3 separate regions of the Homo sapiens genome follow, and regions 2 and 3 are each linked to region 1. Evidence: promoter capture Hi-C in human tissues and cell types (Jung and others, 2019). All regions are on one chromosome and are shown on one strand. Each heading gives the region's core, a stretch centred on a gene start or on the middle of the fragment in contact. The rest is flanking DNA. Distances are from core to core; before and after follow the strand shown. Region 1 holds the start of KIF25 (kinesin family member 25). Region 2 has its middle 44 kb from the start of FRMD1. Region 3 overlaps AFDN (afadin, adherens junction formation factor).

Region 1 (4,231 bases), core at 985-3,484:
GGATGGGAGTGGGGATTTCCAGGGGGTTTGTTTCATGGGGAAGGAAGTAAGTCATATTGAGTATGGTTTTCAAGTAAGCATTTGAGTAAATGAACTTCAGATAATTTTGCTGTATCCATGAATACCATCAAAACTTTCTCTAAGTCAAAAGTATCAGTTGAGTCAATACTCACTGACTGCCTGCATGGCGGAGTGGGTGGTCTTTGGGGTTCATAAAGGCAGGGTGCTCCCTTTTTGATATAGTGACATAAAGGGAAAAGTCCATTCAAAGCCTGTCCCTGTTCGGTCGGACCCCGCAGAGGCAAACCACGAAAAGACGGACGCCCTCTCAGGTGCAGAACCACTACCACGCACGAGAGGCCTGCTCAGGCAGTTTGGCCTTTTGCAGGCCGTATTACAGAGGGCTGCAGAGTGTCCACTGTCAGCAAGACAGCGCCATCCTTAAACAGAGCCCCCACCCACAACTCGAGAATGTCCTGCTTTGGGACCGGGGACAGGACAGTAGACGGCATTTAAAATTGTGCCACTCCTCTGTCTTTTCCCTGAGCACACAGACATACACACACCGTGCAAACACAGGTTACCTGCTCTGCAAAACTGGATCGTCGGATTCACTATCAAAAGGCAACAAAGGACGAATCCGACAGTGAACTCTGATATTTCGTTTCAGCTCCTGCAATGATCAAGAGGTCTGCGTGTCAACCCGGGCGCGAGCCTGCACTGCGGAGCATCCCCCACTGAACGTGCACCGGGCACCAGCTCCTGAGACGCGGCCGTGAGATCTGCAGCACCTGTCTCCACTTCGAAAGACCCCTGCAGGGTAGTGAACAGTTATTTTATTTATTTATTTTTTGAGCCAGAGTCTTGCTCTGTCGCCCAGGCTGGAGTGCAGTGATGCAATCTCAGCTCACTGCGACCTCCGCCTCCCAGGTTCAAGTGATTCTCCTGCCTCAGCCCCCAGAGTAGCTGGGATGACAGGTGCCCACCACCACGCCCAGCTAATTTTTGTATTTTTAGTACAGAAGGGTTTTTACCATGTTGGCCAAGCTGGTCTCGAACTCCTGACCTCAGGTAATGCGCCCGCCTCGGCCTCCCAAAGTTCTGGGATTATAGGCATGAGCCACCGTGCCCGGCCATGAACAGTTATTTTAAACTTCTGGATTCATACTTCACAAATGTGTTCACTTGGCAAAGGGGTATCCCTTGGTAATAAGTACCAAGGAAAATCCCTTTGAATGGCATCCTGGGCTCGACATTTTAGGCATTTTAGAGGGGATTTTGGAAATTCAGTATCTGTCATATTTCCTTGATTTAATGACTGGAAGGAAATTAGAAGCTTTTTATTCTCATAAACTCCACTGGTTTCCAGTGAGCAACACATCTTCTCCGTATGTGCTCAGAACTTGCCAAATCCATTCTGAAATCTTGTCTTGGATCCACAGCAAGTTTATCCACCCTGTCATGCTGAGCAGCTCCTTCTACATTTTGAAAACCAAGTGGGTGTCATAGGCCAATGATTTACAGCCTCCGTCTGGTCTCTATGAACCCACAGAAGCTGGGATCAGCCTCTGCCTGCATATTCTCCATGGGCCGCGCACTGCACGCTCCTCAGCTAGACCAGGAGACCAGGCTTGAGGTGGAACACTCAGAAACTTCCACAACCAATTCTTCCTTGTGGGACTTGACTCCATCTTAGGAAGGTTCATATTATCTTTTTCATGCTCCAGATTAAAAAAAAAAAAAGCTGCAGCGTAGTGAGACTTTCTGAAGTGCCAGGTGCTTCACTGATATCTCCCTTTGTCTTTATAGCAACCCAGAGAGGTGGTGCTATTGTGAAGATTAAATAAGAAAATACACCAAATGGTTTCAAAAGTACTTGGTACACAGGAAGCACTCAATAAATGTTCTCTTATATCAATGTTTGGAGCACTGAACTACATAAGTAGATGCTTAAAATGAGAATTATTCTTTGACACATCTAACAGCTGGAGAACCTCTCGGCATGGCCAGGGAAGAGAAGCTTCGCAGGAACACTGGCTTCGTGGGCCTCGGGCAGGTGGAATTCGGAGAAACTGGCCAAAGTGCAACCATCAAAATCAAACCTCACAGAAGCGAGGGTCACCCACTCAATCATCCACCTTGGCATCCTCGTGTTGCAAAATCAAACCCTGAGACTTTACATTAAATTTCATGGGATCTCAGGTCTCATACCTTCGACCAAGAAAGCACGAGAGCCTCTGGGTCTTGTTAATGGGCAGTGAGAGACGTGGGTGGAAGGTGCTGGTGAGGAAGGGGCAGGGGCAGGGGCAGGGGCAGTCTCCACCGGCATCTCCAGTTACAGCAAAATCCTTGCTTTTCCCGCGCAAGTCCCCATCTCTGCAGATTCCCCCGCCCCCCATCTCTGCAGATTCCCCCGCCCCCCATCTCTGCAGATTCCCCCGACCCCCCATCTCTGCAGATTCCCCCGCCCCCCATCTCTGCAGATTCCCCCGCCCCCCATCTCTGCAGATTCCCCCGCCCCCCATCTCTGCAGATTCCCCCGCCCCCATCTCTGCAGATTCCCCCGCCCCCATCTCTGCAGATTCCCCCGCCCCCACCTCTGCAGATTCCCCCGACCCCCCATCTCTGCAGATTCCCCCGCCCCCCATCTCTGCAGATTCCCCCGACCCCCCATCTCTGCAGATTCCCCCGCCCCCCATCTCTGCAGATTCCCCCGCCCCCATCTCTGCAGATTCCCCCGCCCCCATCTCTGCAGATTCCCCCGCCCCCAACTGCCCGCTACAGCTCTTTCCTTGTGCCTCACAGCAGCCGGTCCCACTTCCTGCATCGCCACCAATGTGGCCCAGGCCACCAGCCCCCGTGACACTGCAGCCATCCCCTTTGCTCCCCGTCGTGGCCTCCCGACCGAGCAGCCAGAGTGACCCCGAAAGCCTAAATCAGCCTGCGGCGCCCTCACCCGTCCTCCAGCTGCCATCGCCTCCTGGGTGAAGAGGACGCAGGTCGCAGCCCCCGCAGCTCTGCCCCTCTGCCCTCCGGCCAGGCCGCCCCGCTGTCCCCCTTGCTGTCCACCTCTCTGTCCACCCCTGCTGTCCCCCCCCGCTGTCCCCCCCGCTGTCACACCCCCGCTGTCCCCCCCCCGCTGTCCCCCCTGTTGTCCCCCCGCTGTCCCTCCCGCTGTCCCTCCGGCGAGGAGGCTTCTGCACGTTCTGCGTGGGCCTCTCCCCGGGGCCGCCCCAGGTCTCCCCTGACGCCCACACCCACCACCAGGCTGTTGTGCGGGACCTTCCTTCTCTGCCTCTCCAGCTGGTGACGCGCACTGACGTCCTGCAAGGCCCGCTCCAGGTGCGCCACCTTTGACTGGCATGCTGAAAGGACAAAGGGACGGAGGCATTTTACCGGAGAGGACATCCATGGGGCCCAGCAGGTCAAATTCCTTTCTCTAAGTATGGGAGACATTTTTAAAAATAATGGAGTCCTCCAGGGCCGGCTGCGTGCTGTGGCCTGTGCTCCTCACTGCTTTGGACCCAGGCTGCGCTGTCTCCACCACGACCAAGGACTCACAGAGCTCGCCTGGGGGACCTGGCCCCACAGTCACCCCGTCCGTCATCAGCCTCAAATGCCATCAGCCCGTGAATGCTGCTCCATCGTCTGCATGGCAGCCAAGGAGGTCTCTGCTCCTAAAGCACCTGGGAGCCCTTGGTGAGGGGGGAGTGGGGCAGGGAAGGAGATGCTGGGGCCCAGCTCTGCTGCTGTGGATTGTTACAGTGGCCTGGGCCTCTACTCCCGCCTCTGTCCTACCAGGATGGTGCCAGGTGATGTGGCGATGAGTGGGCATCGCGTGGGGGCCTTGGACGAGCGTGGACACCCCAATCCCCAGACTGGCCATTGCCGTGGAGGCAGCGTGAGTGTGACATGGAGCTCGGTGTCGTGCTGCAGAGGACGCCTCGCGGCTGTACGCGTCATGATAGCCAGGGACCCCTCCACATGTCACTTAGCCAAAGGATGCAGCCCAGCCTGGGGCTTTCTACCCCAGGCCCGAGGACCTGCAGGGACAAGGACCCCTCAGCGCAGATGCAGCTCTCATGAGGCCTGAAACCAAGCTGGACTTGCAGAACTGCGCACGCTCCCTTTCTGAAAGAAACACCCGTTACCGGGTCCAGACTGAATGTGGGCGTAAGAAAGCGGGAAGGGTCCCCCACAGCAAGAGAGAGACCCTCCCAGTCACTTGGTC
Region 2 (4,231 bases), core at 967-3,466, 130 kb before region 1:
CTGAACCTCTTGTTCACTTTCTTTCCCTCACGAATTAATGAACTCCCCTTCTATAAAGTAGGAATCCCAGTCATGGTCTCCTCTGAATACCCCAGTGTCACGTTTGGCCACCCTGCCCCTCCAAATGCTCCTCCCGCCAGCTCCAGCCACAGCCAAGGAGGCCTGAGGACTCACATGCGGCTTCGCCAAGCCAGGAGAGGCAGGGTGGATGGTCGGGGTCATCCATGGACTCCTGGCCTGCGTCTGAGGTGGGTAGTAGAAGTTCCACCAGATCACTCCGTCCCCTGGGTGAGGGAAGGGTACCCCCAAATATGTTTGGTGAGGGATGGGAGGCATTGTTTATCCCGGGGCCATTTGAACATCGGAAACCCATGCATGGAGACAGACCGGTGGAAAGCCACCCCTTTGCTTCTGCAGTTCGTGGGTCCCATGCTCTCACTGTCATCTTTGTACCATGTGAACAATGTATGACTCAGGTGAATCACTGCAGTATCATTTACATCAGCTCAAGGTGGAAATGAGCCACATGCCCATCAAATTCACAAAGATACAGACAATGCACTGACACAAACATACCGCTAAGATTGTGTTAATGCCGACAACAAGAGTATATGTTTGTGTTTCCTTATACCTGTATAAATCACCCTGGAAGGTTCAGAAGAAACTAATAAATGCGGTTATTCTAGGGATGGGGGGGCAGGTGAGGGGGGTTTCACAATGTGTATCCATTAATATCATTTTTATTTTTGAATCATGAATATATTACCTATTCAAACATTAAATTCTTTTTTAATCCTGTTAAAATAATCACCTTATACAAACTGGTTCTTTTCTGTTTGGGGCCCGTGTGGATTCTGAGGGTGAGGAAGGTGGCAATACGATCCTCGCTGGCGGAATGTGTGTGCGTAAGCTGGGGTAGGCTTATTTGTTTATCTGCATTTTTATGCAAAGCAGCTGCACATTGCCAAACCTCTGGGTTCATTTGCATAATTGAAAACCACACCATGGAGAGCATGGGGCAAAGTGTCAATAACCAGCTCACTCTCCTGTTGTGTTTCTTCTGGAAATACAATTTTCTAGAAAAACTCCATCAGATTAGGAAAAAATGCCTGAGACAACCATCAGCGTTTACACGTAGTGCTCTGAAAATCAACAGCCTCCTTATCTTTAAAGTCAACAGGCTCAGGTAAATTGCCTCAAATGCTCAATACCTGGTGAGAATAGAATGTACATATCATCCCATATATAAATACATCTATGTATCAGTATAAGTAAGTGGGTAAAACCCACAAATATAAGTGGCTGTAGCCCATAAGCAAAAGCTCTCTGGAGCCCCTGATACATTTGAAGAGGACAAAGGGATCCTGAGATCAAAAAGTTGGAGGCCTGCTAGAATAGTGGATCTCTAAGTGTGATCCAAACCCAGCAGATCAGCCTCACCTGGAAGCTCGTCAGAAAGGCAAATTCCCAGGCCCCGTCCAGCCCTCTGACCTCCCGAATCAGCCACTCTGGGGTGGGCCTAGTCATCTGCACTTTAACAGGCCCAGCAGGTGACCCTCTTGAAGGCTGAAGTTGGAGAAACACCATCCAGAGAAGCACCTCCCACACTGAACCTGATAGGAGCCCCAGGAGCGGGGGCTTGTTAGGATGATCCTGACTGGGTCTGGGGTGGACCTGAGAGTCTGCATTTCTAAGCAGCTCCCAGGGAAGCTGAGGTTGCCAGTCCTGAGACCACACTTTCAGTGGCAAAACTCATCAGTGATAAAAATCCTCCCAATTTGAAGGCGTGAAAAGACAGTTTGTAACACCTAAGAGGACTCACAAGCCCCAGTCTATAATCCCCAGATGGGTTTAATCCCTTGAGTGAATCAGGCTAAGATGAAAGCTTGGGTGAGGTTAATTCACTCCCCCTAAGGGGTAAATGAACTTAGTGATCGCTCCCCCATGCTGCTGTGCATTGGGACTGAGTGGATGGGTGACCCTGAGCCAGCAGGAGTCTGGTCTTCATTTCATTCCCTGAGTGCACCATGATGTCAGAGGGGTGAGAACACCGGGGTGCTGTCCGCTGTGATATGAGTCCATTCTCACACTGCTATGAAGAACTACCTGAGACTGGGTAATCTATAAAGAAAAGAGGTTTAATTGACTCACTGTTCTATAGGCTGTACAGGAGGCATGGCTGCGGAGGCCTCAGGAAACTTACAATCATGGTGGAAGGTGAAGGGGAAGCAGGCACATCTTCACATGGCAGCAGGGAAGAGGGCAAAGGGGTGCTATCCCCTTTCAAACAACCAGATCTCATGAGAACTCACTATCGCAAGAAGAGCATGGGGGAAACTGCCCCCATGAACCAATCACCTCCCACCAGGTCTCTCCCACAACACATGGGGATTACAATTCAGCATGAGATTTGGGTGGGGACACAGAGCCAAACAATGTCAGCTGTTGAAGAACTGGGGGCCGTCCCAAACACGGCCATGGAAGCTGGTGTGTCTCTAGGGCTCCCAGCTGGCAATGCAATCAGTGATCAGATCAGCCATCACCCTCGGACTGAGAAAGGGTAAGAGTCACCCCCAAGCACAGAAAAGGCCACAGAGTCAGGACTCAGCCATAAGCAGCGGCCAAGGGGGATCCTGGCTGCTGTGTCAAATGCGTCTCTGGACAAAGAGGGACAGCACAGGGTGCAGCATTAAGTGTTCAAATCATCCAACCAGCTCCCGCCCATCAAGAACGTTTCAAATCAGAATGACCTCAGAGAAGGGGACAGAGGTGAGCTCGTGGAGGGCACACCACGACAGTGGTCATCCTGGGTACGGAGTGTGCCAGTGAGTGGCCACGAGAGGTTAGAACCAGAACCTAGGCCCCAGGACCCTGACTGCAGCTTAATGCCACTTCCATAGTGTGACATGGTGTTTCCACGCGAGGCTTAGAAAATCCTATAAGCGGAATATGGAGTCTAAGCACAAAGTCTCCCAGACAAGGAGGTGTGGGAGATTCTTGTGATTCTCTCCCAGCCTCAACCTCTCTCCAGCCTGGCCCAACCCTCTTGACGTCCATGAAGCCATGGGTGGCCTTCAAAGCGACAGCACCAACTTGAACCGAAGCCCTCCTGAGACAGGTGGCAGTGCCGCCGCGGGACCCAGACCCAGCTGGCAACGTAAACCCTGTGTGAATCCCTGCTGGGAGGTTCGGCGATGCTTGACGCAAATGCTTCTCCTCTAAGAGATGGTTTAATTTCCAAAGACTGGGTTAAAATCATGGCCTCAGTTGGTCGCTAATGAAACTGAGACCTGTTGGAATCCTCTGCAGCACACTCGGCTTTGCATATGCATTGATCCCTTTCCTTGAGGCAGTTAACAGAGAATCTCTCTCTCTTCTCCCGTCTCCCCACTCCTTCTCCCTCTCTCCCCCTCTCCCTCCCCCTACCTCTTTCTCTCCTTCCCTCCTGCCCCTCTCCCTTTTCTACCTACCCTGCCCCTTCCTCTCTCCAACCCTTCCTGTCTATTAATCCAGATGGGGTAGGCTTATGAGGCCATTAAAAATGACCACAAATTCTCAGGGGCTTGAATCATTACAAGCTTATTTCTTGTTCAACCAAAATCTACTGTGGGGACAAGTGAAATTGGAGAAACTCATTTTTGTAGCAACCTTGGCCCCAGGTGGTTTCATCTTTCGGCTGCAGAATCTCACCGTCAGGCTTCTCCATCTAGGAAGGAAGGGGGTGCGGGTGCGGGACAGTTCTGTTCCCCTCATGGTGAACTGCATGGCCTGTCCGCTGTCAGGGGCTAAGAAGCTTCAGTTTCCAACGGATGGGAAACCACCCTGATGCAGCGGCAAGCCCAGGCTCACCACAGGCCAGCCGCCCCAAAGGTCACCACAGAAGGGTGCCCACAGATGAAGACACCCATGGTGAGACAGGCAGGAGGTGGGGCTGGTCTCTCTCTGCAGGCTCCAGGACAGAGACACCCACCTGCAGGGAGGGCTTTGTGGGAGAGCTGTGATTTTATTTGCATTTCTTAGGCAGAACACAAGTGGGCCAGAATGAACGGTGTCCACAGTTGGTGCTGAACGGGTCACAGGTTATCTGGCGACCTGAGGCCTGGTGCAGAATCTGCCCGGCCTCCCTTCACAGCACACAGATGCTCCTCTCCTTCCTGGCTGGCTTCCATTCTTACATCTCTCTCTCCTCTTACTCATTTCTTTCAGTTTCCGTGGCAGAATCGAATCATCC
Region 3 (4,231 bases), core at 981-3,480, 85 kb after region 1:
TATTCACCTTCAATCAAGGTAAATATAAATCTTAAAATTAGTTTGGAAAACTGAATAAGAAAACAAATGACTTAATTATTTAGAGTAGTGCCGCCTTCAAAAATGTGTTCCTTACTTAAATGCCATTTGAACCAAATGTGCTAAAACATCTTGAGCATCCAGTGTGATCCGACTAAGGTCTCGGTCTTGCTTAATGAAGTTGAGAAGTTCAGATGCATTTGCCATCCAGAAGGCAAGTGCCCCTGCAATATTCTTCTGTTTCTGTAGACAGAACACACTTCCATAAGCAACAGAGAATAAACAAAAGTAATAAAAATATAAAGGAATGCTCTTGAAAAGCTGCTGAAGATAGACCAGTACCTTCCCATTTCACCAAGGTATTTACCACAGATACCAGATATTTGCAAAATAATTTGGGTGCATACATAGCAATGGGAAGTAAATAACCACTGCAACTATTTCTTAGGATTCATGCACATAGACATATGGATTCAGTTAGCTACAATTTATAGATGGAATCAGCGGAGAAATGGAGATATCAAATAATATAACACCAAATTGTAGACCGTGCATTATCTGGTAGTCTGTGCAGTATACATACATGTATCCATGGTTACCCACAGCCACCCTGATACTTGTAGTCACTGGCTTGGACACCATGCAACTCAGTATCAAGTACTGATCTATCACATCCTCTCCCGACCACATGTGCAGGCCAGGCAACCTCAGATGAGATCCAAAGAATAGGAACCAAGGATAAATAATAAAGAGAAGAAACAGAACTTTTGTCATTTCATATCCACACTGAAGTGCATTAAGCAGAAATTATGAAATGCCGATAAAGGTTGCACAGTCAAAAAGGGTTTTAGTACTGCATGTCTCAGTTGCTGAATGAGTGTTATGAGCTGTTCAGTCCAGCTGTTGTATTACTTATTTGACATGGGAGCAGCATGAGAAACTTGGCTAAGCAACACAGCTAGGATCAGCTCCCAGCAGATGTCCTACCTGGTCAACCTGGTCTACTTCCTGGAGAAAAACAGACGAGGGGAAATCAAGCAGAACGAGAGAAAGAAACTTGTAAACAATCATGATAGTTTAAAAAAATCAAAACACTAATATGAAGGTACGACATGAAGGTACGACATTTAGTTATGTTATTCCCAAAATAACATTTTCATTTATGGTTCTGAAGCACCTTTAGAAGTATACGACCTAAAGGATTAGTTTTATGTTCTTACCACTGGCACAATAACTAACTGTATTTTTAGAGTTTATCAATAAATATGATGTTACCATAAACACACATGAACACACTGATCTCTTTAAAAGATTTACAATGGAAGGACTTGTGAACGAACATCTTTCAGTGATATGGTGTGCTTACTACTTACTTAAAAGGTACCTAATAAGGTGAAAGTCCATCCCTCTAGATTAATTAATAGGAATGGAAGAGACAGGAAAGACCAAGAAACAATCAAAATAAAAGCTGAGAAGATGAGAATTTAAAAGTGTATAAATAACTTACACCTATACTAAAGGGAGCAAATTCTTTGTTTTTTGAAAATAGAATTTAAATTATTCACTACCACAGTTCTTTTCCACTACTTTAAGATTCCCCCCACTGGATACTAACCCTAAATCTGAAGTTTAAAAGACTTGTTTGATAATGGTGATTTCACTGACTAGTTCACATCAATAAGGAAAAGGCTATCAAGGGTAGTTTTATGATAGGTGTCTCACAACTCGAAACAGGCTTAGTAAGTCCAAACATGATAGAAGACAGACAATGGCTTTGAATGACAACTGAAAAGGAAATCCATGTTTGTTTATAAAATAATGACATGAAAGTAACAAAACGGTATCCAAATAAAATGACTTTCTTTTTTACCTATTTCCTAACTTGGGTAAAAGAAGCATAACCCTATCAAACTCATGCTAATCACTCAAATATAAAAGAAACATTTCTTGAAAAATTCTGGCCTTTGAAAACAATTCTGAAGGAACTAAAAGATCTTAGTTTCCCTCAAATGATCCTGCCAGGAGAAAAGCAACCAATCTATCTATGTTATTAACATTATATAACTAGAGTTTTATTAAGTTAAATAACAACATTGACAAGTGATTCAGAAAAACTGAAAAAATCTGTACATTTACTTTTAAGAACTTTAAAGATTAAATCTTCAAATCATCTGTAGATGAAAAACTGCTATGAAAATTTTATCAACTGTAGATCGGGACAGAAAGTACGTAAAGGAGTCAAACCATTCTACCAACAAAATACCTTTATCTTCTGAAATTTTGAAAACAGGTTTATGACAGAATTTCATTTTAAGTGAGAAGTATGTTACAATGTCCATTACACCTACACATGTGCTATCAAAAAGCCCAATTACTACCAACGTCTAGGCTCATTACACAGGAGCAAGTGACTTTTGAGAACCATTTTTAAAAAGTCTAAGAAGGCGTTACCAGGGAACGGGGGAAGAGAAAAACCCCAGGAACTACTTGAGGGGTATCGCTCTGAGGTGATGGAGACGTTTTGGAACCGACAGGGGTGGTGGCTGCACAACACTGTGAATGCACCAAATGCGACTGAATTGTTCACTTCAAAATGGTTAATATTATATGAACTTCATCTCAACAAATTATTTACAGAAAAAATTCTACAAAAGCCCACAACAGTCTCAGCACTTTCTCACAACTATTACTACAAGTTAACTTCACTTATGCTGAAGTTTTACAGGGAAAACAAAATAGAAAAAAGCTTGCATTTCCTTTCAACTCTTTAAAGTTATACATTTTCCTACAATATTTACATAACTTTTATTTTAGAAAAAAATCTTGTAACCAAATGAGAAGCCTTAAAGAAGCTGAATTCACTGGCTTAGCAATTACAACCACAATCACTGGAGGAGCATGGCTGGCCGGCTGGAACGTACCTGGATGACACCCTCCATCATGCTCACCATCTTGTTGACGACTGCAATGACTTTATGTGTGCGCTCTGTAGGGCTGATGTCAGGTCTGTACTGGTTGGACAATACATACCGGCATGCCATATATAATACATATGTAGGGGACAACTTAAAGTGGACTGTAGAGCTATTAGTATAATTTATAATGGCAGACAAAAATGAATCTTCAGCTGTGGAAAGATTTCAAAAACAAAGAAAAAAGGAAAAAAGAATAAAAACGAATGTGAAAATCAGATGGAGTAAAATGGATCAAGAAATAATTCATTGACAATGAAATCTGAAATTACTCACAACTTTCCCTGAATTCAATGCTTGCAGGTAGTATCAGCTCAGGCCCAGAAGCATCCTGTGTTCTAAAAGAAGAAAGCTGACATCACTTAAAATAAGGTCACATGGCTAACAATATTACTGACAACCTGTGTAGATTTCTGCAACTACTTTTTAAATCTATATACTAATCTTTCCAACGTAAAATAATAAAATATCCCTTGTTTTCAGATGTAGCCTAATCAAATAATGCATTGGGAGTGATCTTATCACGACTCCTCTAAGAAGGTTAGTTCCTTGAAGTATATGCCGCCGCCATGACAGCAGATCTGACGTGATTCTGGATTATTAATGAACACTTCATGTCTAGTACAGGGATCGGTCTGTCTTGCATCTGCTACAGCTATGGCTCAGGTAACACTGAAAACAAAGTACTAAGTGACACAAAGAAAAACTAACCATGCCAAGCTTGAAACGGAGTTCTTATACTGAAAGGGAAAAGCTTCCTAAGACCTGGACTTTGTCTTTCTCTGCTGACACAGGGTTAGACAAGCTGACCACGGCAAGTCTCCTTCAGCCATTACTATCATCATTTTCCAATGCTTACAGTGACGCATGCCTTATAAAGAGATGTTCTACTCACTCACATTTCTTCTTACGGTCACATAAATTCCAGGTCCCTTCCACCATTTAGCCTGACACTACACAAATAAGGAACTGTCAAAAATTATAAATACAAAGAAACTATAATTTGGAACATTTATAAAAACTAGCATTGTGCTGATGTTTATCTATTTCCAGGTATTCAGATCAAATTAATTCAAAAGTTAGGTTCATTTCTATCTCTATAAAAATATTCTTCAAACAGTGTGTCATCACCCATTGGCAGGGCAGAAGGCTGTTTTGTGAAACTACTCTTTCAGTTGAATACACATTTGTATGTGTGTTCACCAGAGCACAATGTAAGATATAATCTTGTGTTATAACCA

Evidence for each region. The method cuts DNA at HindIII sites, captures the fragments that hold promoters and counts their contacts. A contact is called where the count stands out against the background at its distance.
Region 2: a contact is called between a fragment that was not itself captured here and the fragment with the promoter of KIF25 in region 1, in 4 of the 25 tissues and cell types used here (H1 embryonic stem cells, liver, mesendoderm cells and 1 more).
Region 3: a fragment that was not itself captured here is called in contact with the fragment with the promoter of KIF25 in region 1 in 2 of the 25 tissues and cell types used here (hippocampus and pancreas).

The regions. Positions count from the first base shown.
Region 1 is chr6:167,995,674-167,999,904 of GRCh38, reverse strand. KIF25 (kinesin family member 25) reads right to left here and starts at 2,234. Exons shown (of 13, transcript NM_030615.4): 1 at 1,035-2,234; 2 at 585-813. It overlaps KIF25-AS1 (KIF25 antisense RNA 1), which reads left to right and starts at 2,828. Exons shown (of 4, transcript NR_103750.1): 1 at 2,828-2,999; 2 at 3,304-3,667; 3 at 3,802-4,231. The HindIII fragment of the contact is 6,770 bases long and covers 1,679-4,231 here.
Region 2 is chr6:168,121,093-168,125,323 of GRCh38, reverse strand. No RefSeq gene overlaps it. Among named protein-coding and RNA genes, the nearest start is that of FRMD1, 44 kb to the right of the region's middle. RefSeq lists enhancers at 1-285, 3,718-4,231. The HindIII fragment of the contact is 5,968 bases long and covers 1-4,231 here.
Region 3 is chr6:167,910,198-167,914,428 of GRCh38, reverse strand. AFDN (afadin, adherens junction formation factor) reads right to left here. Exons shown (of 34, transcript NM_001386888.1): 14 at 3,267-3,328; 15 at 2,940-3,145; 16 at 1,006-1,026; 17 at 116-261. Among named protein-coding and RNA genes, the nearest start is that of HGC6.3, 67 kb to the left of the region's middle. The HindIII fragment of the contact is 6,595 bases long and covers 1-4,231 here.